Linked DNA regions of Homo sapiens: all the other regions are linked to region 6. The links are contacts of gene promoters, found by promoter capture Hi-C in human tissues and cell types (Jung and others, 2019). All regions are on one chromosome and are shown on one strand. The core of a region is centred on a gene start or on the middle of the fragment in contact, and the rest is flanking DNA. Distances in the headings are between cores, read along the strand shown. Region 1 overlaps ZNF76 (zinc finger protein 76). Region 2 has its middle 17 kb from the start of ARMC12. Region 3 holds the start of FKBP5 (FKBP prolyl isomerase 5). Region 4 overlaps PPARD (peroxisome proliferator activated receptor delta). Region 5 overlaps FKBP5 (FKBP prolyl isomerase 5). Region 6 holds the start of TULP1 (TUB like protein 1).

Region 1 (3,621 bases), core at 749-3,248, 230 kb before region 6:
GAACTCCTGATCTCAAGTGATCCGCCCACTTCGGCCTCCCAAAGTGCTGGGATTACAGGCATGAGCCACCGTGCCCAGCCTGCTTTGTTTTTAGACCTGGTTTCTCTTATGTGTCTTCTGACACAGTGCAGTTACACTAAAGCGGGTTACCCAAAGAATCTACCTGATGAAGAGAGTGAAGCTTGAAGGTCAGAGCAGACCAAGAGAGGCCAGGAGCAGAGCTCTTGTGAGACAGGGACCACGTGGAGGTTATCAGGGCTCTGGGCAAGGATGCTAATAGACCAGAGATGTCAGATGTCAGAATCCCCACCTTGACCAGTGGTTCTTCACCATTAATCCCTATCAGACCCTGATGACAGCCTTGGATTTCCCTCTCTCCTGGAAAATGCAAAGGCTCACACACCAAAAAAGTATTTTGGAGTAGCTTCAAGTTTCATAAACCCCCAGCTTCACCTCTGTGCTTCGCAGCATAGTAATTAAGGTCACACTCTGGATTAAATGGCCTAGGGTGAAATCCTCCTTTACTAGTTAGCTGTGTAACCTTGAGCAAGTTACTTAACTTGGTCTTGGGCCTCCAGTTCCCTCACTTTTAAATGAGGATAATCATAGCATTTGATTGTAGGATTGTTAGAACTAAATGAGTTAATGTATGTGACATTCCTAGCACGTGGTTAACTCTATAGTAGTGTTCACTATATAATAGTATTGCTGCCCTTGCACCTTAGCCCATTTAGTAAATGTTTATGGACAGAATGAATGAATAATTCTAGTTGAGATGCCATGCCTGGGGTAGAGCATTCCAATCAGCGTGTCGCAGTTGGTCTATAGGTTTTTTTGGGTTTTTCGTTTGTTTGTTTTTGAGACGGAGTCTCACTCTGTCGCCCAGGCTGGAGTGCAGTGGTGCAGTCTTGGCTCACTGCAAGCTCCGCCTCCCAGGTTTATGCCATTCTTCTGCCTTAGCCTCCCGAGTAGCTGGAACTACAGGCGCCCTCCACGCCCGGCTAATTTTTTGTATTTTTAGTAGAGACAGGGTTTCACCCTGTTAGTCAGGATGGTCTGGATCTCCTGACCTTGTGATCTGCCCGCCTCAACTTCTCAAAGTGCTGGGATTACAGGTGTGAGCCACCACGCCCAGCCAGTTTTTGTTTTGTTTTTTTCTTTTTTTTTGAGACGGAGTTTCGCTGTTGTTGCCCAGGCTGGAGTGCAATGACACGATCTCGGCTCACCGCAACCTCTGCCTCCCAGGTTCAAGCAATTCTCCTGCCTCAGCCTCCCAAGTAGCTGGGATTACAGGCATGTGCCACCATGCCCAGCTAATTTTGTATTTTTAGTAGAGACGGGGCTTCTCCATGTTAGTCAGGCTGGTCTCGAACTCCTGGATGGTCTATAATTTTGCCAAGATATTGATCCGCTCGCCCCTCAGGGCTGTCAAAGCCCCAGTTGGTCGCTTCTGGCTTGAAGCAGTGACATCTGCAATGTGAACTTCTGACTTTAAGCAGCAGCATCTGCAATGCAATGTACAAATATCTGTCTCTCTAGGTCCCCTGACATGAAAACAGTTTGGGTAGCACCAGTCAAAGATATCGGTTGGTAAGTCGTGAGAATCCAGTAGGCAGTCCAGATTCCAAGTCCAGGAGAATTTTGAGAATGGATGTCAAAGAGAGTCTTCACGACTGCACTGAGTTTAGAGGCCGTGGGCTTCCTGCAGGCTTCACAAGTGTTGGGGTCCACTGCTAGAGCAGGCTGCACACCACAGTGGGTACAGAAGATATCCTGCCAGCAGGAAGCTTCAGTGCTTCCCACCTTGCACATGAGGGACCCAGGGAGTCACTCACAGGATGTGTGGAGAGCCCACAGTGTGAGTTGCTGGAGAAACCACTGTGACGCAGAAACCAGGCTAGAGCCCAAAGCCTTGTGTAGGCAACGGACATTAAACAGATAGTGATGAGTACTGAAGTAGGTTGAGCCCAGAGGTGTGAGTGCTAGGAAAAGGTGGTACCTAGGCTGTGGGAGTTTATAACAACCCAGCCTTGTATGCAAGGTGGACTCTAAGAGCTGTAGGAAACTATGGAAGGGTTTTAGTCAAGGAAGTGGTATGTTTAGATTTGTACTCTTTTTTTCTTATAAATCTACTTTTATTTATTTACTTTTCATTAGCTTAAGTCCTTGAGGGGCACAGCGTCACACAGATTCTGTGTTCAATAGCTTTAGCAAGATTGCTTGGGAATTTAGCACAAACCATGCCACTGTTTCCATGGGCCTGAGTTTACCTTTCCCCAGATTATGCTGGTTTTCTTCAGTTTGCTGCCAGCAGTCAGTGTGTTGTTCTTTGCTTTATACATGTAAGTACATCTCTTGCCTAAATAGAATTAGTTTCATTTCGAGCATAAATACCTTCAATTTTTTTTTTTTTTTTTTTTTTTTTTTGGGACGGAGTCTCGCTCTGTCGCCCAGGCTGGAGTGCAGTGGCGCGATCTTGGCTCATTGCAAGCTCCACCTCCCAGGTTCATGCCATTCTCCTGCCTCAGCCTCCCAAGTAGCTGGGACTACAGGTGCCCACCACCACGCCCGGCTAATTTTTTGTATTTTTAGTAGAGATGGGTTTTCACCATGTTAGCCAGGATGGTCTCAATCTCCTGACCTCGTGATCCACTGTCCTCGGCCTCCCAAAGTGCTGGGATTACAGTCGTGAGCCACCGCACTTGGCCAATACCTCAATTTTAATAAGAGCTGTGTCCTCGCTTTGGTTCTGGAGGCCCCACTTACAGCTAGCAAAAAATGGCCTTGGACTACAGCCTTCCAAATGTATTGTATTTATCTTATTATTATTTTTGAGACAGAGTCTCTTTATCACCCAGGCTGGAATTCAGTGGTATGATCAAAGCTTACTGCAGTTTCAAATTCCTGGGGTCAGGCAGTGCTCCCACCTCAGCCTCTTGTGTAGCTAGGATTGCAGGCATGTGCCACTACACCTGGCTAATTTTTTTTTTTTTGTAGAGACAATGTCTTGCTGTGTTGCCCACATTGGTCTTGAACTCCTAGCCTCAAATAATCCTCCTGCCTCAGCCTCCCAAAGCACTGGGATTACAGGCATGAGCCACTACACCCCGCCCATATTTGCCTTTTGGAAGTCCTGTTCTCAGCAGGCCTCTACAGGCTCCAAGATAGTGGGAAGAGAGCTTTTTTTTTAAATTCACCCTGACAGCATAAACATGAATGTTAGAACATGAGTTGGAAGAGGCTGAGGCAGGAAGATCACTTGAGCCCAGGAGTTCGAGGTTACAGTGAACTGTGATGGAGCCACTGCACTCCAGCTGGGCGACAGAGTGATACTTTGTCTCTAAAAAAGGAAAGAAAAGAAAATGAATTGGAAACAGACAAAAGTTTATCTGAGGACATAAGTTATAAGGCTCCTTATAGTTGTCCAGAGGTGAAAGGTGAGACATGCCTGAAATAAGTACCTGGACTTTTAAGGGAAAAGGAGGACTCAAGCATGATCCCCCCCCCCCCCGCCCTGAAGTTCTGGGTGGAAGGCGATACCACCCCTGGGATAGGGGATACTGGAAGTACAATAGTTCTGGAAGGTTGGGACACATTGTGAGTTCTGTTGAGGACTTATTC
Region 2 (4,079 bases), core at 94-2,593, 210 kb after region 6:
CAAAGGCACAGAGGCGGGAAAATGCAGGGTGTGCTCGCGAGAGCCAGAGGTCCTCTGCAAGCTGCCTCCCGCATGTTCATGGAAGAAAGCTGAGGCCCAGAGAGAGGAAGTGTTTCTAAGACCTAGCAGTAGAAATGAGGTCCTCTTACTCCAGGTCAGTGATTTTTGTCACCCTAAAAAGCTTGCAGGAGGGAACACCGGGGAATCGGCTGTTGGTTTGGTTTCCTTTGCTTTCTTATCCCCATCTAGGGCTGAATCAGGGATCCCTGTTCTTTGCCTTCCTCTGCCAGCAGCTAGCTGTGTGATTCTGAATAAGTCACTTCCCCTCTTTGGGCCCCTCATCTCCAATACAAAGGAGGTATAAGGCCCGGCCTCACCTGGGAATCCCAATTCGGACTCCATAGCAAGCTAAAATGTGGCTTAGTTATTCTCCTATCCTCAGCACCTAGCAGAATCTACAGCACAACACAGGTGCTCAAATAACTGTTTTTGAATGAAGAAAGGAAGGAAAGAATGAAAAGCATCATGACTCTTCCTTAGCACTCTACTTTGACAGCCTCAGCCTCTCCCCTCCCCAGGCAGGACAAAGGATACAGGAGTTCCAAACCTTGAAGAGGAAGGCAAGAAAAACAAATAATCTAACTACACAGGGGCCCTAAACTCTGCCTCTGGGTAGATGCCCCTGAGAGAACCTTTCCTTGCAGCCTTGGCCTTGCTGAAACTGTGCAGTGGGGAGGGCCTGGAGGAGGGGCAGGGACCTCTAGCAGAACAGGAGGCAGCTGGGCCTGAGCCACAGCTGGCCCTCCCCTTGCCCCCTCCCAACTCACAGCCTCTCTGCTCCAAGAAGTGTCCCAAGCCCTCTGGTCCCAACCCTGAGGGGTTGGGCTGGGTCTGAAACCTCCTGTTTCCCAGCCAATGATACCTTCATTTTTTCCAGTTCCAGTAACCCCTTTTTTGAGGCCTCCCTTTCATGTTAAGAACTTTATTGCTCATTTCCCTCTTCTATGACAGCAGCTGTATTTCTTTTAACTTTGTAAAACACACACATGATCTATGGTGATAGAAATCAGAATCAGTTGCCTCTGCGGTAGAGACTGACTGGAAGGGGGCACGAAGGAATTTGGAGGTGGTGAAAATGTCTGAAATCTTGATCTAGGTGATGGTTACATGGGCAGATATATTTGTCAAAATTCATCAGGCTGTACACTTAAGATCTGTGCATTTTACTGGATGTGGAATGTATGTACATTATACCTCATAAAGTACTGCTAGCATCTAAAAGATACACATACAGAAAAATACACGGAACGGACATGCTCAGTTTAATGAATTATTTAGCCAGCGCCTGTGAAACACCACCCACAATGCCTGGTGCCCCTGTGTAGTCCACAGAGCCTGGCTATAACCAAGCAGTTTCCCAGGGACACCAACACCCACAGACAGGGCACCTCGACTCCAGACACCATGTGCCTCTTGCTTCCCGGATTCATGGAAACACAGAGACCAGGGATGGGGCAGAGCCCACAGGCTTTGGAACCTAGAATTTCCCATCAGTTCAACCCCAAGCTTGACTGCAACTCCCATTCTAGTGAATTGAAGGAACAGAAAACACACCATTTCCCCTTTCTGGGAGGGGGGTTTCCGTACCCGGCCTCCTCCAGTGAGTCTTGGCTGAGGGGTGGGGGTTGTCCCTAGTTAAAGTCAAGGAGAACTGTGCCTTCCCTGCATCCCTGCTAAAAATAACCCCAGGCAGTGTTGCTGCCACTGAGCAGCAGGAAGGACAGAGTCATGTTTTGCTTTAAAACTAGAAGCAGCTCGGCAGTTGGGGGCTAGGGCGGGGTGGGAGAGCAGGCTAGGGATCTGAGAACCCTGGCTGTGCTCCGTGCACCCCCACCCCCAGCTGCAGCTGGTCTTCCGGGGGTGCCTGAGAGGGGTGTGTGTATGTTAGTGCGTGCACGCGCATGTGTGGTGACAGGGCCTCCCAGCAGCAGAGCAGGGAGCCAGGGAAGCCTGGGAATGGGTGGGGAGGGGTCTCTGTCCTGATAACTGGAGCATGCAGCTGGAGGGCCAGGCGTCACGTACTCCATGGGGTCCCTACCTCCTCTGAGAAGCGTTCTGTCCCTGCAGCCCACACCAGGCTCCCTGGGGGTCGGAGAGTCTAGCCTTCTGCAGCGTGGCTGCCTGCCCCTCGGGGGCTCCTTGCACACACAGGGCTGGGGATTGTCGCTTCGTAGTCCCTGTCTCTGTCTGGCTTCCGCTCTGCCCAAAGAGAATGTGAGGTCCTCAAGGGTGGGCGCAGTCCGGCAGCGAGGAATTTCCCTGGAAACAGGAAGTACAAGATGTGTCAATGCAGGATCCTAGCAGAGGAGTGACAGGCTGAGTAAAGGGAAGGGAAGAGGCCCTCCTGGCTGCTCACTCTTGCTCTCTCCTCCCACTACTCCCCTGCCTGTCTCATGCATCAGAGGCCTCACATTGTTGGTCTCTCTTTCTCTGTGCATGTCTTGGGTCCCCAGCTCCTTGGAGCCACGATCATCCTGCAGTTGGCCTCCATTTTCCAAGGTAACAATAAAGAAGAATCACCATTAATTTCACAGGTACCCCATTCCGGGCACTGTGCTGACCCTGATGTGGATGATCTCATTTAATCCTCCCAGCAAGCCTGTGATATTGGAATGATTACAATTACTCCTTATTTACAAATTAGGAAACTGAGGCTTAAAGTGGTAAAGTGCTAGTCTAGGATCCCACTGGTAGTACATGAAAAAGGCAAGGCTTGAAGTCATGATATGGAACACAGAGCATGTCCAAGATGACTGTCCAGAAGACAATAAGAATTTTAGGGCCGGGCACGGTGGCTCACACCTGTAATCCCAGCATTTTGGGAGGCTGAGGCGGGTGGATCACCTGAGGTCAGGAGTTTGAGACCACGCTGGCCAACATGGTGAAACCCCGTCTCTACTAAAAATACAAAAATTAGCCAGGCATGGTGGCAGGCGCCTGTAATCTCAGCTACTTGGGAGGCCGAGGCAGGAAAATTGCTTGAACTCGAGAGGTGGAGGTTGCAGTGAGCTGGGATCATGCCACTGCACTCACAGCCACAGAGCGAGACTCTGTCTCCAAAAAAAAAAAGAATTTTAGAAATTTGACCATTCTAGATAATTTAGGACACATGGTTGCTGAACTTGATTTTTTTATTTAAAAAACACACATATACACACACCCCAAAATAGTGGCTTTTTTTTTTAGATGGAGTTTCCCTCTTATTGCCCAGGCTGGAGTGCAATGGCATGCTTTCGGCTCACCACAACCTCCGCCTCCCGGGTTCAAATGATTCTCCTGCCTCAGCCTCCCGAGCAGCTGGGACCACAGCCATGCGCTACCACGCCCGGCTAATTTGTATTTTTAGTAGAGACGGGATTTCTCCATGTTGGTCAGGCTGGTCTTGAACTCCTGACCTCAGGTGATCTGCCCGCCTCGGCCTCCCAAAGTGCTGGGATTACAGGCATGAGCCACCATGCCCAGCCGACAATAGTGGCTTTACAGCCAAAATGCGTACTCCCAGTTGTGATTTTGACCAAGAAACTAACCTTCCTGACCAAGCCTCAGTTTCCATCTCTACAAAATGGGTGTAATAATCCTTGCAGAGGATTACTGGAGAGTAGTGGATTTGAACTCAGCCTTTTTTCTAAACCTGGAAAACACAAAGCTCTTTCTTGCCTTGAGGACTTTGCATGTGCTGTGCTGTTCCCTGTGCCTGAAACCCTCAGCCTCCAGATGTTAACGTGACTAGTTTATTCTTGTCATCCAGGTCTCAGCTCAAATATAACCTTCCTCATAGCAGCCTTCCCTGAGTACTCAGCAGACCCCCCATCACACTCCATCGCATCCCTATTCATTTTCTTCTTTGCACATATTGTGATCTGAAATTTTCTTACTTATTTGTTCTGTTTTTTTTTTATGGCCTGTCCCCTTCCCAACTGCCAAGGATATAAGTTTCTTGAAAGCTGGAACCTCTGTGGGGTTTAATGACCCATTCACGGTGCTCAGAGCAGCACCTGGCAAACATCAGCGCTTGCTAA
Region 3 (3,772 bases), core at 772-3,271, 180 kb after region 6:
CCCAGCAGGCCGCCCGCGCGCCGGACACCGCCGCCCGAGACTGGCAGCGCCCGCGAGCCGGCCCGAATCCCCGGGGCAGCGCCCGGCGCCGTCCCGCCCCAGCCGGCCGCAGGACCCGCCTTCCATAGGGCCCCGGGGCTGTCAGTCCGCCCCCAAAAGGCGCGCGGGCTGTCGATCCGCCTGTCCGGATTGGTGGCCGCGCGCCGTCCATGCAAATGAGGCCCCGCCCCCATCATTTGCTCCTCCACCTCCCCACGCCAGCCCACGTGTCTGGCCCTTGCCCTTTGTGGGGGCCATAGAGAAGGGATGGTGGAAACTGACACCCCCTCACATCTCTTACCTCCCGAGAAATTAATGCCTAAGCAAGCTAGTTGACTTCCCATCTGTATCGTCTCTCTGAAGGCACTGCCCCTCCTATCTGTCCACAGGGCCTACCTAGAGGCCGGAGAGGGGCAGGCCAGGCTGTTTGTTAGGTCAGCTGGCCAGGTTAGCCCTAGGAAGCAACCCCATTAAGTCTAAGATGCCCAGTCGGGACTGGGGAAATCCCACCTCGAGAACCAATTTAGCAGATATCACCTCCCTCTGGACACCCAGTGACTGTAAAGACCATACTTTCTCTTGGCTTGCTACCTTTCAAGCAGGAGATCCCAGGAGATTAAAACAGGAAGAGGCCTTACGGCTGAGTTCGGCCAGGTGGGGTGGCTCACGCCTGTAATCCCAGCACTTTGGAAGGCCGAGGTGGGCGGACCACGAGGTCAAGAGATCGAGACCATCCTAGCCAACATGGTGAAACCCCGTCTCTACTAAAAATACAAAAATTAGCTGGGCTTGGTGGCGCGCGCCGTCCCAGCTACTCGGGAGGCTGAGGTAGGAGAATCGCTTGAACCTGGGAGGCAGAGGTTGTAGTGAGTCGAGATCACGCCACTGCACTCCAGCCTGGTGACAGAGCAAGACTCCATCTCAAAACAAAAACAAAAACAAAACGGCTGAGTTCTTCCGCCAACTCCGAAAGGTAGACTGCCAACCAGATGGCTACCTCTGAGTTACTCCCATAGAGATGCAGGAGCTGCACCTGGGCCTTAGGGAATCTCTAATCAACTCTCTCATTTTTAAGGAAACAGAAACCTGATGTCCCATAGCTAGTTACACGTGGGACCTAATAGTTACCTATGGAAACCTAATATCCCATAGCCAGATTAGAACTCATGTCTCCTGGCTCCAAACCTGCTCTCTTTGCACTATACTGCATTCAAACATTTATGAAGAGCCTCGTCCAGAAATCGCCATGCTGCCTTCAAGAGATGATGCCTGGGCGCCGGGCGCGGTGGCTTACGCCTGTAATCCCAGCACTTTGGGAGGCCGAGATGGGCGGATCACCTGAGGTCGGGAGTTCGAGACGAGCCTGACCAACATGGAGAAACCCCGTCTCTACTAAAAATAATTTTAAAAAATTAGCCGGGCATGGTGGCGCATGCCTGTAATCCCAGCTATTCAGGAGGCTGAGGCAGGAGAATTGCTTGAACAGAGGTTGCAGTGAGCCGAGATCGCACCATTGCACTCCAGCCTGGGCAACAAGAGCGAGACTCCATTCTAAAAAAAAAAAAAGGGTGATGATGTCTGCAGAAAAGACAAATAAAGCCAAGACTGAAACCGCCTCGAGGGCAGGGGTTCTGTCTCAGTCATTTGTCTGTCCTCAGTGCCTAGAAGCTTCCCTGTTTACCAGTTGCCGAGGGGAGTCACTGAAACAATGTATTTGTTCATTAACGCAGAAAAACAAAGTTGATCAAAATTCCTCTGCATACTAATACCAATTGATTAAGCATCTACTATGCTTAATAATAGCACATATTAGGCAGGGCACAGTGGTTCACACCTGTAATCCTAGCACTTTGGAAGACAGAGGTGGGCGGATCACCTGAGGTCGGGAGTTCGAGACCAGCCTGACCAACATGGAGAAACCCCATCTTTACTAAAAATACGAAATTAGCCAGGCATGGTGACGCATGCCTGTAATCCCAGCTACTCGGGAGGCTGAGGCAGAAGAATCGCTTGAACCCGGGAGGCGGAGGTTGCAGTGAGCCGAGATGGCACCATTGCACTCCAGCCTGGGCAACAAGAGCAAAACTCCATCTCAAAAAAAATAATAATAAATAAATAAAATAAAATAAAATAAAAATAACAGCACATATTAAGCTCTATGCTATCAGGGTATATATGTCCCAACCCTCAAGGGCTTCATTAGGAGACAGTGACATACACGTAACATGTCAGTTCTCCTCTTCATGTTACAGGGGTTGTGACAGATGTCTGCATAGGGCACAATGGAAGGCGCCAAGGAAAGAGGAATCAGCTCTTCCTACGAGAGGCAGGGAAGGCGTCATTGAAGAGGTCACCTGACAGTAGAGCTGAATCTTAGAAGATGAAGTAGGTGTTTGCCAGACAGAGGGGTGTGGACAAGGGGGAAAGGGACTCCCAGGCAGGAGGGGACAGCGTGAGCAAAAAGCATGCAGACCTGGAAAAGCCTAATAATTGAGGGAACAGTGAGGAGCAGTGTGGGCAAATCTGCAGAGGGCTGTGTGGACGTGTCACATGTCTGGGACCAGGCTCTTCCAGGAGGAAGACAGAAAGGCAGGGGAGGCTGCCAGGCTGTGTTGTAATACACCGCAGCAACAACAACAGGCCCTGTAGATACAGCTACACGGTTCTTTTTTTTTCTAGGCCAGAGTCTGTGGAGAACAGTCAGTTCCACAGTTCCGATGGCAGCCTTGCTAGCCCCACCCACTCTCCCAGAAAACCACTCTGATCACTGCACTTGCCTTCCTTGGCATTTGGAAACACATGTGCTTGCATTTTCCCTAAACATTACTGCCCTTCAGAATTCAAAGATGACATGCGCTATGGCTGCAGATACCTGGATGTGGGATGAGCAGCCCTTTCCTAAGGCACAGTACGGTTCTTTGCAGGGTCTGTACCTAAGACCAGTTCCATGGGTATGTGACCTGTGTAGTACACAGGGCCGTGTACTTAGAAGAGCCCTGTGCTGGGTCTAATGCTCTGCTGCCGCCGTCTTGAAATTCTTAGTACTTTCTCAACAAAGGGCCCTGCACTCTCATTTTTCACTGGGCCCTGCAAATTATATGGCCAGTCCTGCCTGTCACTGGTAGTGACCCTGGGCATGCTTGTGGAACTGCTCAAACCACATCTCATTTTAAAAGCACTTCGCATTCACTAGACTCATTCACATGCATTTTATCATTTGATTCTCTTTTTCTGTCTTCCTTTTTCTTTTAGAGACAAGGGCTCACTCTATTACCCAGGCTGGCCTGGAACCGCTGGGCTCAAGAGACCCTCCCACCTTGGCCTCCTAAACTGTCAAGATTGCAGGTGTGAGCCACCTTGCCCGAACTTATCATTTGATTCTCACAATGGGGTAGGCCAGTGTTACTCTTTATTTTCATTTATTACTTGAAAAAATTGAAGTTTGGCAACTTTCTCCAGGTGGCACAGCTAGGAAGTAGCAGAGCTTGTACTTGAACTCAGCCCAGGCAAGCCCTGTTCCAACTACTACCGAGCTACCTTCATCTTGGTTTCAGAATCCTTTTAAAGGCAGCTTTGTACATTAAGGTTTTTGAGAGTCAGAGTATGCCAGGCGTGGTGGTTCATGCCTATAATCCCAGCACTTTGGGAGGCTGAGGTGGGCGGATCACCTGAGGTCAGGAGTTCGAGACCAGCCTGGCCAACATGGTGAAACCCTGTCTCTACTAAAAATACA
Region 4 (3,905 bases), core at 1,011-3,510, 140 kb before region 6:
AAGGCTTCCAGAGGATAGTTAAGAAAGGCTCAGGGTGAGTGAGCGCTGGTATCTGAGTGGGCCTTGCAGGCCTGGCAGAATTTCAGCAGGCTGAGATGTTGTAGGAAGGGCAAATATGACTGAAGAAAAGAACAACAGCTCAGGTGTGACAGGGGAAATGAAGAGTATTAGTTATCTATTCCTGCATAACAAATTACCCCAAAACTTAGTAGCTTAAAACACTATCTCGCAGTTTCTATGGGTTAGGAGAGATTTACACAAATATGTGAATACCAGAAGGTGAGGATTGTTGCCAGCCATTTTAGAAGGCTGACTCTAATAGCAAGTTGCAGTAAGGATAGGATTGGCCAAGGCAACAGATGGAGCCATGATTGTGGACAATCTTACATACTTAGCTGAGAGGTTGTCAGAGATTGATCTGAGAACAGTGTGAGCCATGGAAGGTCTTTGAGCAGGAGAATAATGTGATAGTTGCTATACAGGACAATTAATCTGATAGCATTTATGCTAGAGGGGTCAAAATGGAGAGAGATACACAGGCAGAGGCCTAGATTAGGAGATGGCTATAGTAGTACAGGTGAGAAATTCCTGGCCTGTAGTACTAAATACTTTTTTTTTTTTTTAAGACAATCTCACTCTGTCACCCAGGCTGGAGTGCAGTGGCATGATCTCGGCTCACTGCAACCTCTGCCTCCCGGGTTCAAGCAATTCTAGTGCCTCAGCCTCCTTAGTGGCTGTGACTACAGGCGTGTACCACCATGCCTGGCTAATTTTTCTATTTTTAGTAGAAATGGGGTTTCACGGTGTTGGCCAGGCTGGTCTTGAACTCCTGGCCTCAAGTAATCCACCCACTTTGGCCTCCCAAAGTGCTGGGATTATGGGCGTGAGCCGCTGCATCCGGCCTCTGTATTAAATACTTTAGCTGCATATTCTTTCTTCGAAATGACCACAAAAAGAAGGTATTACTGATTAATATGCATATGGTCTTGCGTATGGCCAGACTTATGACTTGCGTATGGTCATAAAGGTAGTAAGTTGCAGAGCAGCACTCAGACCTGCCTGGCTTTGATGACCGTGCCTTGATGGCACTGGAAGTGGAAAGGTGGGGGTGACTGGGGAGGTGAGGTTTTGTCCGTTCCCTGGATGCTAAAAGGAAATGGAGGAGTGTAAGAGGTTGATTCTTTGAACCTGGATGGCTGGGGCAAAGATAACACTGTAACAGGAAGAAGAGAGGCCGGAGGGAACACTGATGTGATGGGAGAAGGTGAGTGATTTGGGAACATGGGGCATTTGTTGGCAGGGTCCTTCCCAATTATAGGGCGAGTATAAATAGTTCCTGTGCTTTGTGTATGAAGAGGTACCCTTGGCCCAAAAAGACTCTAAATGTGGAAAAAGGATATGGTGGTGTGGTGGTGGTTTGAACATTGGGTTTGCGCAGATAGTGATGGTAACTGGCACTGGCCTGCGCTTCAGACTTTCACAGCCCGTTCACTTCTGTTGAAACTCACACAACCCTATTCAGGTTATCATCATTCCCTATCTGATTGATGAGGAAACTAAGGCTCAGAAAAATCCATTTGCTCAAGGAGAAACAGTGTTTCAGTTACCTACTGCTGTGTAACAAATCACCTGTGAAACTCAGTAGTTTAAAACAACCACCATTTATCCTTTCTCTTGATTGTGTGAATTGGGTCCAGATGCTTGGTTCTGCCCCACATGATGTCGGCCAAGCTTGCCCATTTGTCTGTGTTTAGCTGCACTGTAATGTCCAAGGCAGCTTCTCTTTGCATGGCCTCTAATCCTTCAAGAGTCTATCCTGAACTTCTTGCAGCATGGCATCTGGGGGCCAAGACAGTGGAAGCCAGTCGTGTTGAGGCCTGGGCTCACGTCCCAGAACATCACCTCAATCATGTTCTATTGGTCAGAGCTGTCACTGGGCCAGCCCAGATTCCAGGTTGGGAACTAGACGCCACCTCTTGATGGAAAGAGTGGCAAAAGGTTTGTAGCCATATTTAATCCACAGACAGCCGGTAGTGGATACCTGGATTTGAACCCAGATCTGTGTGACTCAGACTCACAGTCTGTCATGCCATACTGCATCCCTTTCTGCTTCTGGTTCCTTGGGAGTTGCAAAGCTTGCTGGCTCTTTTGTGTGGTTGGAGAGGGCTGATTTTTCTTGTGGTCTCCCACAGTGGAAGTTGTACTAGTCATCCCCCTTTTCACAGATGAGCATCCAAGATCACTGTGTCTTAGGGAACCTTCCAAAATAGGTTTGCTCTAGGGATTTGCTAGCTTCCCCCAAGCTTCAGCAGTGATAGCCAGACATGCATGGAATTTCCCTGTGGAGTTTCCCTTTCTGCGCTTAGTGGCCTTTTGATGCACAGTGCTCACTGGGTGGGATTCCTGCTGCATTGTAGCCAGATGTGGAGGCTAGCCCTATTTTGAGTTATCCCAGATGGTATCCAGCCCAGTGAGTCCCATACTTGACTCAACTGGCATATTCACCAGGGAGTTTTGGGGAAAATGTAGATTCCTGGGCCTTCCTCATGCCTATTGAATTAGAATTCCCAGGGATGGCGTCCAGGAACCTGCCTTTAAAGCTCCCCATTGATTTGGGAGTACAGCCTGGTTGGGAAACCAATGACTTCCAGAGGCTGGCACCCTCCCTCAGCCCAGTCATTTCAGAAAGATGCCTTTGAAGTCACTGATCAGAGGAGGCCACATGGGAGAGAATGATTTGTCCAGAGGGCCTCACACTTCACAACCAGGAAGTGACTCCTGAAAGTGTCCAGGAAGTTTCTATTTGAATCTGCTCAAATCTTTGATGTTGTTTTGCATGCTTTGATAGTATCTGAGCTTTATGGTGGCCTCTGGGTGTTTTTCTTTGAAAGTGTTTGCAGAGAGTAGCAAGCTCTTCCAGCAGTCAGCAGACACTCCCTAACCAGGAGCTACTTGGTCTGATTTATTTGAAATATGAAATTCCTTTGCTTGGCTGTCTGGTTGGTATCTTTGGTGTGAAGAATATGACAACCCTAGAGATACCTAGGTTAGCACAGCAGTTGGACCTTTCTAGTCTTGTGCCTTGGACATACTTAAGGTACACTTGGAAAAGTAGATTTTAAAACCCTGGATAATTTGGTTTGCCAGTTAAATAAACTTCTATATTTTAGAATATTTGGAAAATAAAGATAAATATAAGGAAGACCATAAAATTACCTAGAACTTTCCTCTCAGAGAATTTCCACGGTTAATGTTTTGAATGGCTATTCATCCTTCCCCTCATGACCCTTCACACCCCCTCTTTTTGAAAACCATATTGAAGTCATATTGAATGTTACTTTTTAGCAGTTTTGTTGAGATGTAAGTCATAAAGTCCACCTGTTGACAGTGTGCAATTTGATGGTTTTTAGTATTTACAGAGTTGTACAACCATCACCACAATCTAGTTTTAGAACATTTTCTTAGTCCCAAAAAGACATCTTATAATCCATTAGCGTGCATTCCCGCCTCGATGCCCCATCCCGCCCTTACTCCAGCCCAAGACTACCACTCATCTGCTTTCTCTACGTACAGATTTACCTGTTCTGGACATTTCATATAAATGGGATCATACAATATGTGATCTTTTGTGATTGGCTTCTGTCACTGGACATAATCATGGTACTGTTTTGAAACCTGCTTTAAACATTTATATCCTAGCAATTTGAATATAGTTTTCAAGAATGCACTTTTAATAGCAGAGCGGTATTCATTCTTATGAGAATATCTAATCTTATTTAATCAGTCCTGCCAACAGACGTTTAGGTTATTTCTCATCTTTTGCTCTTATAGCCAGTGCTCTCTGCACTCAGAAATTATTTTGTTGATTTATTGGTTAATTGTCCGAATCTGTGACTAGAACAAAA
Region 5 (3,971 bases), core at 1,361-3,860, 160 kb after region 6:
AACATATTTTTTTCAAACAGCAATAAAATAATTCAACATAAGAAAACATTTAAAAAATAGAAACAGAAGTTCCAACACAATATATGAAGGGGCTAAGAGAAACCTACACACACAAACTCAGCCCTCAAAAGAACCCTAAAATCTAATTTAGAAGAATTTTTTTTTTTTTTGAGACGGAGTCTCACTCTGTCGTCTAGGCTGGAGTGCAGTGGCGCGATCTCGGCTCACTGCAAGCTCCGCCTCCCGGGTTCACACCATTTTCCTGCCTCAGCCTCCCCAGCATCTGGGACTACAGGCTTCCGCCACCACGCCCAGCTAATTTTTTGTATTTTTAGTAGAGACTGGGTTTCATTGTGTTAGCCAGGATGGTCTCGATCTCCTGACCTCATGATCCGCCCACCTCGGCCTCCCAAAGTGCTGGGATTACAGGCGTGAGCGACCGTGACCGGCCACTATCTTCTCGCTTAATAGCATAATTAGAAGATAAAATTTGTTATAAAGGGTAATCATCCAAATACAAAACAAGTTACAGATCAGAAAAGGGGGGAAAAAATCCCCTTTTACCTTCAGAAAAATGAAGACAAGAAAAAGAAACCAAACCATGAGAAATATAAATAATCTGATACAAAGTATTGAGGACATGGAAAAAAGTTTTGTATAGGCATTTGTGAATTATACAATTCAACTTCAGTGTTTAAAAATAATAAAGAAAAATTAATATTTCAGTAAAAATCAATCTAGTCCAGAAGCTTGCTTTTTTTTTTTTTTAAAGAAATAATGTGGCAGATTGCAGAGGTCTACGACATCTTTATGCATCCCAGGCCACTTTTTACCTCTCTAATCATGGGAAAGAATACACAACATGAAAAGCTTACCATTTGCAAAATGATTTCTTGATTATGCTTATGGCGACTAAAAAGTATTTGTGGCTGGAGGCGGTGGCTCACGCCTGTAATCCCAGCATTTTCGGAGGCTGAGGCGGGCGGATCACAAGGTCAGGAGATTGAGACCATTCTGGCTAACACGGTGAAAACTTGTCTCTACTAAAAAAAAAAATACAAAAAATTAGCTGGCGTAGTGGCAGGCGCCTGTAGCCCAAGCTAGTCGGGGGGCTGAGGCAGGAGAATGGCGTGAACCTGAGAGGCGGAGCTTGCAGTGAGCCGAGATCGCGCCACTGCACTCCAGCCTGGGCAACAGAGAGAGACTCCGTCTCAAAAAAAAAAAAGAAAAAAAGTACTTGTACATTATGCAAATGTTCAAAATGCAGAGAGGGCAAATGTATTTAAACATACGTTTCCAGGGAAGAAAAGGAAGTGATGTGATAGTGAATTGGTGATTGGGAATTAACATTATATAAGAGAAAAAATTACCAGCCCTGTAAAAAGGGAAGAGAATATTTATTGAGCAACTGGTATGGCCAGACGCTAAGCTTAGGGCTTTATACCTTCTATCACATTACATCTAGGTAGAAAAACAATGTAGAAGAAAATGCTTGAATACATAACATACCATTATGTGTTGTGTGTGGCATATATTAAAATCTAAGAGATTGGCTGGGTGCCGTGGCTCCTGCCTGTAATCCCAGCACTTTGGGAGGCCAGGGCAGGCAGATCACTTGAGGCCAGGAGTTCAAGACCAGCCTAGGCAACAGAGTGAGACCCCATCTCTACAGAAAATTTAAAAATTAGCCAGGTGCGGTGGTGTGCACCTTTAGTCCCAACTACTTGGGAGGCTGAGGTGGGAAGAACGCTTGAGCCTGGGAAGGAGCTTTGAGAGTGCCACTGCACTCCAGCCTGGGCAACAGAGCAAGACCCTGTCTCAAAAGAAAAAAAAAGAAGAAAACAGAAACAAAAAGTCCATTCTTTTGAGAATACTATTTATGTTTATAATACTATTATATTTATAATTTACAACTCTAAAAATGAAAGCAAGAAACCCTCTTCTCAAAGCAGATTTTGGAGACTTGGTTTTAAGTATTAAGAATAGTGAGGCTCATCTGAGAAATACAATCATGGGCTTATTAATAAGGTTGAATTATTATCATATAGTTCCTGGTAATAAAACTATTTTTTGTCTTGGTGCTTAATAGTAATAACAGAAAATTTATTTATTGTACTACTATAATTCCCACCCAGATAGCTGAGAATCACACTGAGATGAGAGTATAAAACAGCCTTCATCTAGTCCTGAAAGGGGCAGCCCTGCTCATTCGGTAGCTGTGGATCTTGAGCATATGCCTCTACTTCCTCTGAACCTCAATTTCCTCATCTGTAAAACAAGATGGCTGGACTAGAGGATGGTTCCCTTCCTTCTTCCCTTTCTCCCTCTCTCTGGTCCTTTCCACCTTATGGCTTGATGATTTAGGATCTAGACTGGGGTTTTGAGGACAGAGAGGAAACACTAGCAGAAACCCACTAAACTTTGGAGAAAAGGAGTGAGGATTATGTAAACAACTAGAATACAGAGAAAAAGAGAAAGCCAAAAACATTTACAAAAATAAATGAGCAAATAAAGAAGCATAATGGCCCAGTTTAGAAGATTATGAGCTTTACTATCAAAATTAGCTTGAATAGAAGTTTCAGTTATTTTGAAATCAAGGAAGGTAGAAATGCTGGAGATACAGACTTAGAAATTATCTGTAACACATAAGAGTTGACAAGTAACCCAAGAGTCTTTCCAAGTTCCCTCAGTACATATGGAAAAGATGTCACACTTCTTGGCTTACCTATTCATAACTGTGCCCCGACATATTCATCCACTAATTTCCAACAAGCTATCCCTCTAACCAATTTGGCTTCATCACTTCAAACAAACCTAGAGTATCTCCCCTTCATTATCACTCAATGTTCTATCTGAAATGCATTCTCCCTTCTCTCAACTTATTAATAATAATTTATCAAGCTCTAACAATGTTTGCGGAACCATTCTAAGTGTTTTACATGTATTAACTCATTTAATTCTCTCAACAATCCTAGGCGAGAGATCACGTCACTTGCTTAAGATGACACAGTAGCAGAACTAGGATTCAAACACAAGCAGTCTGGCTCCAAGGAGACTGTCAACTTGCTAATTAGTCCTTCAAAGCTGAGATCAAGTTCTGTCACCTTCCTGAAGTTCTCATTTGCTTAGCCTCTTGAGCCCTTAAGTAAACCACTCCTTTGCCACTTACCATTGGATCTAGGTTGTTAATTATCTTTTGTGCATATGTTCTGTCCTTTCTGAGAGCAGGATCATGTCCTGTTCATTTTGTTAACCCTACTTAGAACCTAGCAGAACTTAATAAATATCTGGAACACAGCAGTACTTATTAATGAAACTACACTAGTATTTAATATTTAGTGAAGACATACTAGGCGCTGAGCTAAGTGCTTTACATGTATTGTCTCATTTAATCCTCACAACAACCTTGAGGTAAGTGCTCATTTTGTCCCTCTCGCATGTTATAGTTGAGGAAACTGAGACTTACAGAAAATAAGTATCTTATCCCATACCACAAAGTGGTAGTGATAAGATTCACTGAAGTCTTACACGAGTCTATACCATACTCTAGGCTGGGTGTGGTGGCTCACGCCTGTAATCCCGGATTCTACGGATTCTACAGATATAGCATTTTGGGAGGCCGAGGCGGGTGGATCACAAAGTCAGGAGTTTGAGACCAGCCTGACCAACATGGTGAAACCCCGTCTCTACTAAAAATGCAAACATTAGCTGGGCGTGGTGGCACATGCCTGTAATCCCAGCTACTCAGGAGGCTGAGGCAAGAGAATCGCTTGAACCTGGGAGACAGAGGTTGCAGTGAGCCGAGATCACGCCACTGCACTCCAGCCTGGGTGACAGAGAAACACTCCGTCTCAAAAAAACAAGTCTATACCATACTCTTAATCCCCAGCCTACCACAAAACACCTTGAGGGAAGAAAGCATCAATCCTAACAATTTAATTCAACTTGCACTTAGCAGCAGCAATACTTCA
Region 6 (3,786 bases), core at 384-2,883:
CTGAGACCCTCCTCTCCTTACACGCTCGCCTTGCCTCCTTTCCCCATCTCCCTGCATCCACTGTGCTTCTCCCTGACCTTGTCTGTTTCTGACCTTGAGTCAGACCCATCTGGGCTACTTCTGGCTCCTAACTGCTGGTTAAGGCAAAAACCCTTAACGGCTCTATGACTCAGTTTCTCCATCTGTACAATGGTGGAGGGGGGGAACAAAGCACCCTCTCATAGTTGGTGCTTAGCACAATACCTGGCTCAAAGATAAGGCCAGAAAAGTGGGGGCTATTTGACTACAGTTGTTTTCTGCCTCTCTGGGCCGTTCCCGTCCAGCCAGCCCCTTCTCTCCTTAGCTCCACCGCCCCCTCACCCGCGTCCCTGGGGCCCTCTCTCACCGTCCTCCGCGTCTGGGGCACGGGCTACCAGAAAGGTTTCCCGGGGGTCGCGCTTCTTGGCCTCGGGGTCCCTGAGGAACCTGGCGTAGACCGTCTGCGGCGCCCGGGCCTGGGCTGGGTCTGGGGAAGGCTCCTCCCGCGGCCTCCCCGTCCGCCCAGCTGAGCCGAGATGCGGGGTTCAGACAGGGTCCCATCCGCGGGTCCGCGAGGCAGCGCCTCTACCCGCTACCCCCAAGCCTGGGCGCACCCCCTCGGGCTCCTCACCCTAGGGATCTCCCCTGGGCTTGGGTTTCCACTTTCAACACTTCTCCCCGGCTTCCATTCAGCTTCCCACCCCCTTCTACCCCAACGCCACCCCCTTCTACACCAACCCCAACCCCAACCCCAACCCCAATCCCTCCCCTCTCATCACTCCCCGCCCCCTCCTCCCCCACCCCGTTCCAGGGCTCGGCGACACCCGCGCCGGCCCTCAAGCCCCTCCCTTCCGCAGCCCACACCCTGGGGGTCCACCCGGGCTCTGCACCCCGCCCACCTCCGGGCTTCCGGGGCTTGGATCCCGTGGGGCAGGGGGATTCGGGGGCCTCCGTCCTCTTCTTCCTTAGCCTCTGTGCCGGGGCGGGTCGCTGCGGAACGGGGGTCAAGAGGAGGTCGAGGAAGGAAAGGGGGGCGCTGAGGCCCGCCCATCCCCCTCTAATCCCTTGAGCCGCCAGAAATAACCGCAGATTATCCGGGGGGAACTGCAGCCCCCTTCTTGGAGTGAGGCAGGATGACCCCTTCCATGCATCGTGGCCATATCCAATGCTCCAAAGTCCCTATTCCTTCCCTGGAAACCCCAAGTCCCCAAACAGCCCTTTCTCCCCCCAGATCTCCAGACATGCAACCCCCAGACCCTGCTAAGGGGGACCTGTCCCACCCCTAGACCCCCTACCCTGCGTGGGTTTACGCACAGCGGGGACATCTTTCTGCTTCCTTTCCAAGTGGGGTGGCATACCTGTTTGGGGCGCCGCGGGGCCTCCGGGCTCAGGCTTTCTTCTTCATGCCCACTGAGGGTAGCAAAGGGATCAGCCTGTCTCCCTTCCCCTTCCCTCCCCATCCCACCCACTCCCCATCCCTCCATCTAGGCCCCCCAGGGTTCAGGTGCCACGAACTGGGGGCCTTCCAGACCTGTCAGAGGCCCACACCTCTCGGAGGGTTTCATCCCGCAGAGGCATGGTGCCTTTGCCTATCGCACCCCTTTCTCTGCAGGTCTAGGAGCCTCCCTCCCGACTCCTGCTAATCTCGGCTCAACTTCACCCCCCTTCCCCCTGCTCAAGGAGTGGAGGCCTGGCCGCGCTGTGGGAGGTGCTACAGCCCACGACCCTCCCCTGCTAGGCCCAGGCCACTGGGGGAAGAATCTCAACTCCAGTTCTTCTCAGATCCCCAGCAGCCTGCAGGATGGCCACCAGCTCCACCTGCCCCGAGAAGCCCCCAGAAGCTTGGGGTGAGAGGGGCCGATTAGTCATTTGTCAATGGGATGTGGAAGAAAACATTAGACTGGATCCTGTATTTATCTTTATTTCTCACAAAAAATAAGAACTAGAGCCAGGTGCGGTGGTTTACACCTGTAATCCCAGCACTTTGGGAGGCTGAGACAGGTGGATCATTTGAGGTCAGGAGTTCGAGGCCAGCCTGGCCGGCACAGTGAAACCCAGTCTCTACTAAAAATTCAAAAATTAGCCGGGTGCGGTGGCTCACCCCTGTAATCCCAGCACTTTGGGAGGCCGAGGCAGACGGATCACAAGGTCAGGAGATCGAGACTATCCTGGCTAACATGGTGAAACCTCATCTCTACTAAAAATGCAAAAATTAGCCGGGCATGGCGGCAGGCACCTGTAGTCCCAGCTACTCAGGAGGCTGAGGCAGGAGAATGGCGTGTACCTGGGAGGCGGAGCTTGCAGTGAGCGGAAATCATGCCACTGCACTCCTGCCTGGGCAACAGAGTGAGACTCCGTCTCAAAATAAATAAATAAATAAATAAAAAATTAGCTGGGCATCGTGGTGGGCACCTGTAGTCCCAGCTACTGGGGAGGCTGAGGCAGGAGAAGCACTTGAACCTGGGAGGCGGAGGTTGCAGTGAGCCGAGATCTTGCCAATGCACTCCAGCCTGGCCAAAAAGAGCAAGACTACATCTCAGAAAAAAAAAAAAAAAAAAGAATATGTCTGTATTGGAGGTATACCCTTAACTCTTTTTCTTTTTTCACTGATAGGGGACATGCTTTTGTGGTATTGTTTTGTTTTGTTTTAGACAGAATTTTGCTCTTGTCACCCAGGCTGGAGTGCAGTGGCACGATCCTGGCTAATTACAGTAAATCCATATCAAATGGAACTTTCTAAAATACTATTTCTTCGGTTGCCACCTTTGTTCAAAAACATTCATTGGCTCCCTACTGCCTAAGGATTAAGTTTAAATGTGTTGGGTTGACATTCAAGGCTCTCCCTGATCTGGCCCCAGTCTGCCTTTCTAACCACAGGGTTATCCCAAGCCATACTCTTCATCCAGCCACAGAGGTTTCCTTACTGCCTTTACAGTTCTGTCCTCCATGCCTTTGCTCAGGCTGTTCCCTCCCGGAACGCCCTCCCTATTCCATGAAACCTATCCAACTCTAAACAGTCCTCAAGTCGCCACTTCGGAGAGGCCTCAGTCCTCAGTTGGCTCTGACCATATAATAATAATAGCATTTATTGTCCACCTACTGTGGCTTGCTCCCATTCTGACTCCACCCTCACAATAATATTTATGAGACAGACATTAACACCCTGATATTAGGGCAAGGAGCAGTGGCTTATGCCTGTAATCCCAGCACTTTGGGAGGATCACTTGAGCCCAGGAGCTCAAGACCAGGCTGAGCAACATAGTGAGACTTTGTCTCTACAAAAAATTTAAAAATTAGCTGAGCAATGTGGTACATGCCTGAGGTCCCAGCTACTTGGGAGGCTGAGGCAGGAGGATGACTTGAGCCCAGGAGGCAGAGGCTGCAGTGAGCTAAGACAGTGCCACAGCACTCCAGCCTGGGCAATGGAGTGAGACCCTGTCTCAAAAACAAAACCAAACAACCAAACAACCAAACGAAAACACCCTGATATTAAAGGTGAGGAAACTGACAGCTGAGTGTCAGTCAACAAGTATTTCCTGAGCACCTATTGTGTGCCAAGCGCTATGCTAAATAATGGTCATACAGAGATGAACAACATGATGTGGTCCCCGCCCTCGTGCAGCTTACATGCTTGTGAGAGAGACAGATAGTAGAGACATAAATACCCAAATTAGTGATAATGATCTCATTATTATTAGTTGTGAGAAATGCCAAGAAGGAAAGGAACTGGGCTCCACGAGACCAGCAGGTGGGTTCCAGTCTGGATTT

The links. Contacts are between HindIII fragments. The study calls those that stand out against the background at their distance.
Region 1: a fragment that was not itself captured here is called in contact with the fragment with the promoter of TULP1 in region 6 in 1 of the 25 tissues and cell types used here (dorsolateral prefrontal cortex).
Region 2: a contact is called between a fragment that was not itself captured here and the fragment with the promoter of TULP1 in region 6, in 2 of the 25 tissues and cell types used here (H1 embryonic stem cells and pancreas).
Region 3: a contact is called between a fragment that was not itself captured here and the fragment with the promoter of TULP1 in region 6, in 1 of the 25 tissues and cell types used here (IMR-90 fibroblasts).
Region 4: a contact is called between a fragment that was not itself captured here and the fragment with the promoter of TULP1 in region 6, in 1 of the 25 tissues and cell types used here (spleen).
Region 5: a contact is called between a fragment that was not itself captured here and the fragment with the promoter of TULP1 in region 6, in 2 of the 25 tissues and cell types used here (dorsolateral prefrontal cortex and pancreas).

What each region holds. Positions count from the first base shown.
Region 1 is chr6:35,277,019-35,280,639 of GRCh38, forward strand. The region is part of intron 1 of ZNF76 (zinc finger protein 76); the gene reads left to right. Among named protein-coding and RNA genes, the nearest start is that of DEF6, 19 kb to the right of the region's middle. The HindIII fragment of the contact is 5,242 bases long and covers 1-3,621 here.
Region 2 is chr6:35,718,230-35,722,308 of GRCh38, forward strand. It overlaps a transcript of FKBP5 not described here. Among named protein-coding and RNA genes, the nearest start is that of ARMC12, 17 kb to the right of the region's middle. RefSeq lists a silencer at 223-517 and an enhancer at 2,274-2,513. The HindIII fragment of the contact is 4,059 bases long and covers 1-3,373 here.
Region 3 is chr6:35,688,874-35,692,645 of GRCh38, forward strand. It overlaps FKBP5 (FKBP prolyl isomerase 5), which reads right to left and starts at 42. Exons shown (of 11, transcript NM_004117.4): 1 at 1-42. RefSeq lists a silencer at 1-271. The HindIII fragment of the contact is 9,341 bases long and covers 1-3,772 here.
Region 4 is chr6:35,365,947-35,369,851 of GRCh38, forward strand. All of the region lies in intron 2 of PPARD (peroxisome proliferator activated receptor delta), which reads left to right. Among named protein-coding and RNA genes, the nearest start is that of PPARD, 25 kb to the left of the region's middle. The HindIII fragment of the contact is 4,387 bases long and covers 68-3,905 here.
Region 5 is chr6:35,671,717-35,675,687 of GRCh38, forward strand. All of the region lies in intron 1 of FKBP5 (FKBP prolyl isomerase 5), which reads right to left. Among named protein-coding and RNA genes, the nearest start is that of MIR5690, 8.9 kb to the left of the region's middle. RefSeq lists a silencer at 390-589. The HindIII fragment of the contact is 6,359 bases long and covers 1-3,971 here.
Region 6 is chr6:35,511,263-35,515,048 of GRCh38, forward strand. TULP1 (TUB like protein 1) reads right to left here and starts at 1,634. Exons shown (of 15, transcript NM_003322.6): 1 at 1,550-1,634; 2 at 1,377-1,428; 3 at 918-1,008; 4 at 386-544. The coding sequence starts at 1,596. The HindIII fragment of the contact is 7,738 bases long and covers 1-3,786 here.